Regions from separate parts of the Homo sapiens genome. Here regions 2, 3 and 4 are each linked to region 1. The links are contacts of gene promoters, found by promoter capture Hi-C in blood cells and fetal thymus (Javierre and others, 2016). All regions are on one chromosome and are shown on one strand. Each heading gives the region's core, a stretch centred on a gene start or on the middle of the fragment in contact. The rest is flanking DNA. Distances are from core to core; before and after follow the strand shown.

Evidence for each region. The method cuts DNA at HindIII sites, captures the fragments that hold promoters and counts their contacts. A CHiCAGO score of 5 or more calls a contact.
Region 2: a fragment that was not itself captured here is called in contact with the fragment with the promoter of CENPE in region 1 in 1 of 17 cell types (endothelial precursors); the score reaches 7.3 in endothelial precursors.
Region 3: a contact is called between a fragment that was not itself captured here and the fragment with the promoter of CENPE in region 1, in 1 of 17 cell types (fetal thymus). The highest score is 7.1, in fetal thymus.
Region 4: a fragment that was not itself captured here is called in contact with the fragment with the promoter of CENPE in region 1 in 1 of 17 cell types (fetal thymus); the score reaches 8.8 in fetal thymus.

What each region holds. Positions count from the first base shown.
Region 1 is chr4:103,196,908-103,199,928 of GRCh38, forward strand. CENPE (centromere protein E) reads right to left here and starts at 1,436. Exons shown (of 49, transcript NM_001813.3): 1 at 1,357-1,436. The coding sequence starts at 1,412. RefSeq lists an enhancer at 1,298-1,852. The HindIII fragment of the contact is 3,749 bases long and covers 482-3,021 here.
Region 2 is chr4:103,776,985-103,779,935 of GRCh38, forward strand. No RefSeq gene overlaps it. Among named protein-coding and RNA genes, the nearest start is that of TACR3, 58 kb to the left of the region's middle. The HindIII fragment of the contact is 6,341 bases long and covers 1-2,951 here.
Region 3 is chr4:102,615,631-102,618,467 of GRCh38, forward strand. It overlaps NFKB1 (nuclear factor kappa B subunit 1), which reads left to right. Exons shown (of 24, transcript NM_003998.4): 24 at 804-1,672. The coding sequence ends at 964. All of the region lies in intron 1 of LOC105377347 (a long non-coding RNA gene), which reads right to left. Among named protein-coding and RNA genes, the nearest start is that of NFKB1-AS1, 110 kb to the left of the region's middle. The HindIII fragment of the contact is 613 bases long and covers 1,224-1,836 here.
Region 4 is chr4:102,440,165-102,443,232 of GRCh38, forward strand. The region is part of intron 2 of NFKB1-AS1 (NFKB1 antisense RNA 1); the gene reads right to left. Among named protein-coding and RNA genes, the nearest start is that of NFKB1, 60 kb to the right of the region's middle. The HindIII fragment of the contact is 1,305 bases long and covers 670-1,974 here.

The DNA.
Region 1 (3,021 bases), core at 186-2,685:
ATAATTGAAAAGATTTCACCTGCTAAAGAATATTTTGAAAGATAGTAACATAAGAGAATGACAGAAAGTCCATCTTTGAGGATTCAACTCTTAAATGGAGCTTCAGTGACCTTCTGCCGCCTCAAAAGTGTTTTCTTGTGAAGGCTTTCATTCTCACCCTCTCCCCCAGTACTGGTAAACAAAGGGATGGATTCAAAATGCAACTCTGATTATGTCTGTCTTGCTTAAAATTCTTAAAACCTTTTGGAAACTTATGAAATCCTCAGCAGGGCACGAGTCCTAGATCATGTCATTTCTCTCTTCCATTTTCCTCTGAATTCCTAGATACATCCTAAGCTCTACCTGAAGGTCTTCCCCAAATGACAGATGTAACCTCTCTGTGCCTGGAATACTCTGACTTCCCTTTCCATTAAGTAACATAGGGATTATTTCACTCATGAAAAGCGTCAAGACTTTTCTGACACCAGTTCACCCCACGGGAAGCTTTCGTCTCTGATGGGCTAATAACTCCTCTAGCAAACATTCTCTACCTGCCCATCATAACACTTGTCAAAAGGTATCCTAATGGTTTCTTTATGTAGCCGTTTAAGGCATTAGATAATGAGCTCCTCAAAAATAGGAAATTCCTGATCTTGGTATTTGCATTTATTAAACCCCGTGTTCAATAAAAATTTCTCACACACACAAAGTGTTAGCATTTCGGGTCGAGGGCCAGAAGCTAGTGAAGCAAACCGATTTCATTTATTCCTCTTCCTGCTTTTTCTCCCTAGCACTTATTACCTACATATCACCACTTAACATCCTACATTTTCAACTTTACTTTCTGTCTCGTCCCATTAGAATGGAAGAGCCACTGGGCAATGACGGGAGTGTCTGTGTTGTACAAAGTCACTAAAAAAAAATTGATAAATATTTGTAGAATGATCTTGAGTGACGATTGAATGTAATGTGACAAGACAGACTAGCCCTTGTCTTCAGAGGGTCTGGAGACAGCAGTTAGGTGTAAAATGACTAACTGTGATGAGGGCCAGGAAGGCACGGTCCCATACGACTTCTCTAGGCGGGGAATGGGGCAGGGAGGAGCAGATGCCGCAAGGCAGAGCAGCACAGAAGGGAAGGTCTGTATGTCAGCGAGACTGAGTTAAATTTAAGTGAATCTCGCAGCTGGAAAGTATCTTCTAGATCTCCGATCCTCCCCTGTCACTTTACAGACCCTGAAACGATGGCCAGCAGCCGAGTCACTAGACAGCAGAGCCGGGAAGCAGCGGCTCCTGGAAACATCGTAGGCCTCGCCCCTCCGGCTCAGGGCGGCGCCGCAGGCCCAGCGGGCACCGGGCCGTGGTGTGGCCCCCCTACCTGCTGTTCAGCGGCCGCACTCGCACGCAGACGGCCACGGCTCCTTCCTCCGCCATCCTATCAGGCTGAACTGGTCCCAGGAAAATGGCCAGGACCCTCCGCGGCCGGCACTTCAGGGCTCACAGGCCGCCCCGCCTTTAAATTTAAAATTTCCCAAACGCCGCATCTGATTGAGCCGTGGCCTCGTGACGTCATGGGCCATTCCACGTGCGGAGCAGCGCGGGGGACGCAAGGCGGGCGGCGTGACCACTGCTAAACAGGAGAGGGGATTTAAAGGGCCCAGCAGAGAGTCGGAGGAGAGGGCCGAAGGGAGGGGCTCCCAGGAGTGGGCAGAGAGTGGTGGTCCTGGAATACCAGAATACTATTATCTGCCAAAAGCTAGCGAACGTCATCCTCCACCCCATCCTTAAAAAGTTTGGAACCTGTAGACGAAACTAGGTAGAGATACATGTATTTTTCACTACCCAAACAGAATTGCCGTCTTTTAAAGAAACTGCACCAACAGTTTAAAATAAACTTTCAACAGCAAGAGTTGAAATTCGCTGTCCAGTCCAGAAACGTGACAAGCCTGTTGTGCGCCTTAGAAAATCTGAGTTTAGGCTTTTCTCCTGTTTCTCTCTCTCTGTAACTCGTTTCCATTAGCTGTGGCTTCCTCAGAGGTTGAATTAGGGAAAATAAATACCGAGGACTGAAAAACTCATTGAGTAATGGGTTGATACTTTTTTTTTCTTCTTTTTTTTGGAAACGGAGTCTCGCTCTGTCACCCCAGGCTGGAGTGCAGTGGTGCTTATCTCTGCTCATTGCAGCCTCCACCTCCTGCATTCAAGTGATTCTCCTGCCTCAGCCTCCCCAGTAGCTGGGATTACAAGGTGCCCGCCACCACGCCCAGGTAATTTTTGTATTTTTAGTAGAGACGGGGCTTCGCCATGTTGGCAAGGCTGGTCTCAAAGTCCTGACCTCAGGTGATCCACTTGCCTCGGTCTCCAAAAGTGCTGGGATTAAAGGCGTGAGCCACCGCTCCTGGCCTGGTTTGTTACTTTTATTAACTAAGAGGGAAAGCTATTCTAAATACAGTGATTTTTTCCCAAAAATAATGCTTATTTTCCCTTTCTTCTCTCTCTCTCTTTTTTTTTTTTTTTTTTTTTTAAATAAACATGAGTTCTTGCTTTGTCACCTAGGCTAGAGTGCAGTAGGCTGAACACAGCTCACTGCAGGCTCAACTCCTGGCCTCAGCCCAAGTGGGGTTCCCACCTTAACCTCCTGAGTAGCTTGGATTACAGGCACATCACAAGCCCAGATAATTTTTAAATTTTTTTGTAGAGACGGGGTGGTGGGGGGATTAGGGTAGGGAGTGGGGTCTCACAGTGTTGCCTAGGCAGGTCTTGAACTCCTAGGCTCAAGCAATCCTCCTTGCCTTGGCCTCCCAAAGTGCTGGGATTACAAGCATGAGCCATCGTGCCTGGCCTAGCTTTTTATGTGTACTTTAGAAAGCTATCCAAGATGTTTCATTTATTAAGAGAAATTCAAGGTGCACGGTTATGTACACAGAATATGTCTGGATATACATACATAATTTTTGGAAAGATACACAGAATATGCCTAATTTCCTTGCAGAGTGAGGACTGAGTTAGATGGTAGACTGAGTTAGATGAAAGTAGTTTCTTT
Region 2 (2,951 bases), core at 327-2,826, 580 kb after region 1:
CAATGCAATGGAATGCTTATCCAAATCTTCATAGCTTCAGCATTATTGCTGGACTATATACTAATGTAAATTAAACAGGAAAAACAAAATAACAATTGCTATTTGTTATTTCTAACTTTTAAAAATAAGTACAATTTCTTTGCAATGTATAGTTTGCCTGTAAATAACTATCAAAATTGTAAGTACTTTAGGGTCAATCGTTCTCTATTCTTAACTTTGGAAAACATATTCTAACTTGGGTTTACATTTATTTAATATACTTGAAGTTGGGCCTTTGTTATTCTGGCAGTCACTTAAAGTTTCACATAAACGGGTGCCTACTCCTGGATCAAGGGATATAAAATGTCATCAAATTCTAGGCACAGAAAATTACAAGGCATAGGAGGCTATGCTTAGAGTCTGTCAGGTGAGTCATAGACACCAATGTGTCTCAGCGTATCTCAGTTTTTACTGTAGGGAATTACTTTGATTTACAGTATTTTTTAAAAAGTATTTATTTATTTAGGTCAGTTTTAGTTTCACCAGGAAATTGAGAGGGAGGCACAGAAATTTTTCACATACCCTCTGCCCTCACACATGCATAGACTCCATCATTATCAACATCCTTACCAGAGTCGTACATTTGTTACAATTTGATTAAACCTACATTGAAACATTATTATCACCTAAAGTCCATAGTTTACATTAAGGGTCATTCTGGGTGTATGCATTCTATGGGTTTGAACAAATGTATAATGACATGTATCCACAATTATGGTATCATATAGAGTATGTTCAATGCCCTAAAAATCTGTGTTCCAAATACTTATCTATCTCTCCCCTCTGATGCCTGGAAACCATTAATTTTTAATTATAGCAATGGTTTTGCCTTTTCCAGAAAATCACATACAGTTTGTTTTTTGGGTTTTTTTTTGTTTTTTTTTGTTTTTGAGACAAAGTCTCGCTCTGTCACCCAGGCTGGAGTGCAGTGGCGCGATCTCGGCTCACTGCAACCTCCGCCTCCCAGGTTCAAGCAATTCCTTGCCTCAGCCTCGTGCATAGCTGGGATTACAGGCACATGCCGCCATGCCCAGCTAATTTTTGTATTAGTAGAGATGGAGTTTCACCATCTTGGCCAGGCCGGTCTTGAACTCCTGACCTCGTGATCCACCCGCCTCGGCTTCCCAAAGTGCTGGGATTACAGGCGTGAGCCATCGCCTGTATATTCTGTCTAGGTATTTACAGATTTACTGTATATTCTGTCTAGGTATTACACTTAAATAAATTAAAAAACAAAAAGGTGAGGCCCAGAAAAGAAATGCCAATAGATTTATCTACAATGTTTTCATTAAAGGCTCAAAGATGTAGGTTATTTGCAGCAGAAAAGAGTCCTGTCATCCCTCCATCTCTTTCCATTCAGCTTCCCTTATTAGCTTGCTAATAGGGCCCAAGGAGATAGAGTCATGAAAGGAGACAAAATTTGCATAGTAGAGGCAGTTACACTAGGTGTTTAGGGCCCTCTGGGTGAAGAGGGACAACTGCTGACCCTTTCACTTTAGGGGGCTTGTGTTGGCTCTGTGGAGGCTCCCTTAGGTGGAACTCTTCCACTGTGATTCCCAGTGATACAGAAAATGCATATCTTCTATCAGCAACTTTCCCTGATTTTCCCATTGTCTGCTTTACAGCATATTCTAATAGAATACCTCAGCCCCATAAACACTCTCCTTATGCAAAAATTAAAGTAGCTTTTAGCTACTTCTTGACCAAGTGCTTCACAATGGGTCTACGGGAAACAAGTTACTCAGCCTTTGTCATCAGATTGGAGTGCAGTTACTTTTTGGGTGTTGCCCTACACCCAGCTGCCACGGACATGACACCCTCATTTGTTGACCCAAGAAATGTTGTGAGTGAAGGTCAATACCAGCCAGAGGCAAACTCTCCCTTGCCATCGCAGCCACGGTCTTGCATGTTTAGATTATTTAGTATACCAGACTAATCACCTCCTCAAATCAAGTGCTGGTTGGTTCTTTTGAGGCTTCCTCATCTAACTTGTAGTAGATCAAGTAATATCATCCACCCAGGCCCTTTGACAAAAGGCTTGGCATTCATATATGGCAGCAATGCTCCAAAGGAATTTTTTCATTCAGACAGTGATAGGCTCAGTGATAAATGTGTCATATTCTCTGTGGCTTAATACAATGTATCCAATTTTTTTCTACCACATCTGATGCAAAGCAGATAGTTCTTTTTGGCTCTACTCTGATAACCCCAAATCCAGGCCTTTTCCATCATAGCAGAATCATGCAGTCTTCAAAATTATGGTAGAAGAGAAGACAGGATCACACTGTTTGTTTGTAAGGCCAGTGTCTGCAAGTAGCTTAAATACCCTCCACCTCCATTAAATTAATTTTGTTAGCCAATACTCAGTCTTACACCCCCTGACATAATTTGGGAGGTTATGCCTTATTCATATTCCTGGGGAAAGACATTATGCAGTGAATACATAGCATTGCTTCTGCCACAGAAACTCCTTCACTCTTCGTATCTCCTTATACCCTTTCAATAGAAGTTCCTGAAAGAGTAAATAACTCCTATGATGCTGGTTTTTGGATACATCCTTTGAAAATATGCTTTTTAGTCTAGCTCCTTGCTTTGATATCTGATATCCATTATCACCTTGGAATCTCAGACAAAATAGAAACAGGATTAGTCTTATTTTAGTATTTCATTTAGATTTCCTACTTAGGTGATTTAACAAATATTGAGCAAAAACTGCTTCAGAGCTGGAGAATACGTATCTTCCAATTTATAAAACAATTCTGCCTGATAAATTTTGCTACATGAATGTTAATAGTGTAGAAATCATCAATATATAAAAGCATCTCAAAGGTACCTGAGTCATCTGTTCTGTATGTTTATTGTGTAGACTAAATATATCAGAGACTTCAGTTTCAGTACAAAAAATATATAGA
Region 3 (2,837 bases), core at 280-2,779, 580 kb before region 1:
TTAAGCCCTTAATTTGTAGTTATTTTTAGGATATCGCATAGTTTGTAACCCATAATAGACACCAAATAAAGATTGGTTGATTAAACAAATCAGTCAATACCAAAATGATAGTCGTGCCACTGGCATTAAAGTCTTAATATTCTAATATTGGAATTTGGTACATAAGAAGATAGCATTTTGATTAGTGTATGTTAGACTTCTGTTTCCTTCCTCACTGTATAGGAAATAATTTGTCTTGGTCATATCCCTAAGGACACTTATAAACAAAGGGAATTCAACCTGATTTTCCAGTATAGACTCATTTTCACCAAAATCATTTTACTTTTATTGCTACCAAAAATGTTTTCAAGGCAATGTATGCTGTAATAGCATATGAGGCCCAGAGAGAGATCTCATTTTTAGTTCTTGCTTCTGTCACCAATTTATTTTGCTGAGGTTCAGCAGTTTCCCCAGCTATGAAATAGATAATACAGTGGTTGGAAAACTACACTTGATTTCTAAGGGAAAAAAAGGTCCACTGTGAGTCAAGAGAATTCAGAAAGGATTCTCATAAACACAAGACTAGATTGCAGGAAGATGTGAAAGCATTTGGCTAATTCTGACATTTGGCTAATAACATCCTCACAGTATGTCCCAAGTATCTTCTGCCCTTCCCACCACGGTGAGCAGTCATGACAGTGAGGGTGGCATAGGTGGGATGTGTGGCTGGCAGAAGCCAGTGGGCAAGAGTTGTCCACAGAATAGTCCATGAGCTTTTTAGAGCCCGGCCATTCCCCCAGTGAATTTGTGCTTTCTCCCCTCAGACGAGCTCCGAGACAGTGACAGTGTCTGCGACAGCGGCGTGGAGACATCCTTCCGCAAACTCAGCTTTACCGAGTCTCTGACCAGTGGTGCCTCACTGCTAACTCTCAACAAAATGCCCCATGATTATGGGCAGGAAGGACCTCTAGAAGGCAAAATTTAGCCTGCTGACAATTTCCCACACCGTGTAAACCAAAGCCCTAAAATTCCACTGCGTTGTCCACAAGACAGAAGCTGAAGTGCATCCAAAGGTGCTCAGAGAGCCGGCCCGCCTGAATCATTCTCGATTTAACTCGAGACCTTTTCAACTTGGCTTCCTTTCTTGGTTCATAAATGAATTTTAGTTTGGTTCACTTACAGATAGTATCTAGCAATCACAACACTGGCTGAGCGGATGCATCTGGGGATGAGGTTGCTTACTAAGCTTTGCCAGCTGCTGCTGGATCACAGCTGCTTTCTGTTGTCATTGCTGTTGTCCCTCTGCTACGTTCCTATTGTCATTAAAGGTATCACGGTCGCCACCTGGCATTCCTTCTGACCACAGCATCATTTTGCATTCAAATTAAGGGTTAAGAAAAGAGATATTTTAAAATGAGAGTCACTTGATGTGCCATTTTAAAAAAAAAGGCATATTGCTTTTTCTAATGTGGTTATTTCTCTGATTTGCAAAAAAAAAAAAAAAAAAAATACTTGTCAATATTTAAACATGGTTACAATCATTGCTGAAAATGGTATTTTCCCCCTTTTCTGCATTTTGCTATTGTAAATATGTTTTTTAGATCAAATACTTTAAAGGAAAAAATGTTGGATTTATAAATGCTATTTTTTATTTTACTTTTATAATAAAAGGAAAAGCAAATTGATGACCTCACCTTGTTTGATCTGTGCAAATACTTTTCTAAGATGCTTCCTTATAATCATGGGATCATTCCGTATAGCCTGGTTATCACATTCACATTGCCTATTAGAGTCAATTTTTTAATCTAGAAATGAACAAATAATTATCAAAAGGAAAGTGTTTTAACCTAAGATGAAAGCTTTGGATTTGCCTAATCCTTACCCAGCTCATCTTATTTAGATTGTGCCACCTCACTTTCCTCCATCTCATGCAATGCTACACCTCTTCAATGTCTTCTCCACACCTCTGTGATAAAGTATTAAGATTTCCATATACCAGAGGGCCCTGGACTAGGAGCCTTCCAGCATGAAGCTTTGCTGAACAACAGGTGCTGGAGAGGATGTGGAGAAACAGGAACACTTTTACACTGTTGGTGGGACTGTAAACTAGTTCAACCATTGTGGAAGTCAGTGTGGCGATTCCTCAGGGATCTAGAACTGGAAATACCATTTGACCCAGCCATCCCATTACTGGGTATATACCCAAAGGACTATAAATCATGCTGCTATAAAGACACATGCACACGTATGTTTATTGCGGCATTATTCACAATAGCAAAGACTTGGAACCAACCCAAATGTCCAACAATGATAGACTGGATTAAGAAAATGTGGCACATATACACCATGGAATGCTATGCAGCCATAAAAAATGATGAGTTCATGTCCTTTGTAGGGACATGGATGAAATTGGAAATCATTCTCAGTAAACTATCGCAAGAACAAAAAACCAAACACCGCATATTCTCACTCATAGGTGGGAATTGAACAATGAGCTCACATGGACACAGGAAGGGGAATATCACACTCTGGGGACTGTTGTGGGGTGGGGGGGGAGGGGGGAGGGATAGCATCGGGAGATATACCTAATGCTAGATGACGAGTTGGTGGGTGCAGCGCACCAGCATAGCACATGTATACGTATGTAACTAACCTGCACAATGTGCACATGTACCCTAAAACTTAAAGTATAATAAAAAAAAAAGTTGGGAATATGGAAGAGGAAAAAAAATCAGTTTTTGAGCGAGGTACTATTGTCGACATTGTGATGCACAACCAGGATTCCCCTTTGACAAAGGACTATTCTGCTGGTGGTGCACTCTAGCTGTCAGCTTTCTCATGGAATGCTGCCGGGAGCT
Region 4 (3,068 bases), core at 72-2,571, 760 kb before region 1:
TGCTCTATCACACTTAGTTTGTTTCTGATTTCTGGATCCTACTAAAAAGCAAGGAGGATGAAATTTTTTTTCTTTTCTATTGATTCAGAATCTGGAATTTTGACTACAAAAAAATTTTTTTGGAAATCTTGCCATTAGTCTAAGGCAGGGGGTTACTTAGGGGTTGAAATCTATTAGCTGCTAATGTTTTTGGCTTAGTGAGAATAACAGGATTTGGGGTTCTGAAGGGAAATAGAGTTTGTAGCTTGCTTAAAACTTACTGTAGACCCCCAAATATTAAGATTTTAACATTTGTATTATTAATGATAATATTATTCTTTTTAAATCTGCGTACTGTTTTTCTAAATGTTGGGTTCTAGAGAAATATATTTGAATAGCACTTGCAACTTCCATGAGTTTCTTACCAATAGTAAAGTTATATGGTAGGAATCCCAGATAATGGCTTCACAACTCAATTTGGAAGATTATGTATAGTTTAAAGATGTTATGCTAAGTTTGCTTTAAGTGCTCCATTCAGCAAACTATGTGCAAAAAATGCAGATAGAATGATGGATAGTTAGATTAAATTATCGACTTTCTGAACTTTCCAGTTCTTACTCTGAAAGGATTTCAATTAAGGGGAAGAAGTAGTGTAGTCTTAATATAAAAGTATGAAGTAGGTTATAAATAAGCTTTTATTTTGTGAGTTTCTAATCAATAAGCTCATAATTCATGGTAACTCTTTTAGGCTAAATAAGATTATCAACATCATGACATTTTCTCCTTGCTAGATCTTCATTTTATATAGAGATTCTTCCCTTAGGAATAAAAAAAATCAGAGAAAAAATTTCATTATATATTAGGTACAGTAAATGAGTGAATTATAACTATACCTTTATTAACATTTTAGTTGTATTACAGTCAACAAGGAAAAAATGGTCTAAGGAGATACATTATGTTTGCAATGTTAACTCTTTCACATAACCAGTCTCTTTTTTTTCCCCTGAGTAAATGCATTTTATCACATTTTCTTGCAAATTTGTATCTTCTTTTCTTCCCTGCACAAGAAAAGTTTAACCCACTTACATTCTTTAAGAAAGCATTGATGAGACTAGAAATGATCAGTATTACAGATGTCAAATTAATGTAACATATTCCTTCAATCCAACATGCATTGAGCATCTACTACATGCCAGGTGCTCTGTTAGATGCTGGGGATACAAGTTAAATAAGATGCATAGGCCCTTAACTCAAGGAGGTGGCAATCTATTGGAGAAGATACTGACAAACAGAATAAAATGTGAGCTTTTTATTGTGGAAGTATAGCAGTTGGAACTCTTTGGTTGCAAATGACAGAAAACATGATTCAAACTGGCTTAAACAACAAAGAAATGAACTGGTTCACATGACAAAATTGGAGAAGGGGGAATGGTACATACAGCGTATCTCAATCCAGAGATTCAAGTGACGTCACCGGGATTGGTTTGTGCACCTATCTTAGGTCTACCTTCATCTGCATTGGATTTGTTCTCAAGCTCCAGTGAAGACTGGCAACTCCCAGCTCATTTCTTACTATGTATTATTTGAGGAGATTACTCTTTTAGTAACTCACATTGACAGAAGGGTCAGATTTGTAGAAGTTAATAATGCATCTTTATTTTGTCTTTCCTTTCCTCTTGGTTCTGCACTTCTGCTTTCCAGAATCATATTTCTAAGTAAACTTCCGGTACATAAGTCTTTGTCTCAGGCTCTGCTTTGGAGAGACCCAACCTATGACTGGGATGTTATTCCAGCACACATTAACCCCTAAATTTGCCCCGATCTATTATTGCAGACTCCCAACAACCATGCGTCTACAATGTAGTCATGGTCCCCTGGTCATACCTGATAAAACTAGGGAAAGAAGCCTAACAGACAAGGTGGGCAACTCAGAAATTTCCCCAGGGGTTGATGGGAAATGGACTGAGGAAAAGTTGTTCTCACTGTGGTGGACGAAGCTTAATGACTCGCTTTGCAACTTTACTGGAGCACATTCAGTGAGCTGATGGTCAGAACTGAGGAACTTCATCCATAAGCAGTTGTCAAACCATTGGGAGTTGGAAATAGACCACGGTGAAAGTACCTACATTAGAAAAATCAGCAACTGTTACAAATCCAGTCTTTTTCCACCCAGACAGCCAATTTGCTAGCACACCACTGCCTTCTTCCCTTTGTAGTATTCTAACACCTGAGAAAGGATGAGTGCCTTTGTTCTGTTTACAGAGCAAAGTACAGATGAAGCAATACGGGTCAGGCAAAATCAAATAATCTCCAAACTAAGAGCTTTGTTAACTCCTGTTGGGGCACACAACTTTGGGCTGAGGTCTCTCCTGAAATGAAGACCTCGCCTGAAACGAATTCTTCTTATGAAATAATTTTCTCTGGGCCCACAGGGCAGGTTCCAATTGATCTAGTAACCTATTATTGGGCTTAGAAACTAAACTGAGCTTGCCAGAGACCATCTTTGGTCTGGTCTAGTTAGTACCAGGAGACAAAGGACAAGTGACAACACAGGTCCACGAATTAACAAAAGACAGGAGAGACATGGGACTGTGCCACCCACAATCTGAAGCCATGACCTCACCACTGCTTAGCAAACCTCAGTGTATTGCTTGATGTCACTAGTAACACAAACCAGTCCTCCTCCTATGAGGAGGAACATGCCACAGGAATAGGAAGAAGGATGGAATTGCTTCCTCTGTTGGGGTTCAGAAACCAAAACATGGCACTTCGATATGCTGAACTGAAGAAGCAGCCTTAAGGTTTATTTGACCTTCCCCCTACCTCCTTTCGCTCAATCCTGTCTCTCTCAAAGCACAAGGTGAAGTTGTTCTCTGAAGATCCCTTGTCTGCCTGAAGTCTAGACCTGGCAATAAAGGAAACAATGACCACTGTTTTCTTCTTTGAATTTTTATTAACCGAACTAATACACAGGAAGAAAAGCTGAAGTCTGTCAACAAACCTGGACAGAATTTTGTCACAAACCATCGTAGGCTCTTCAGGCCCAATAGATTTTGTCCCAGGCCATTATATGTTCTCTAAGCCCATTG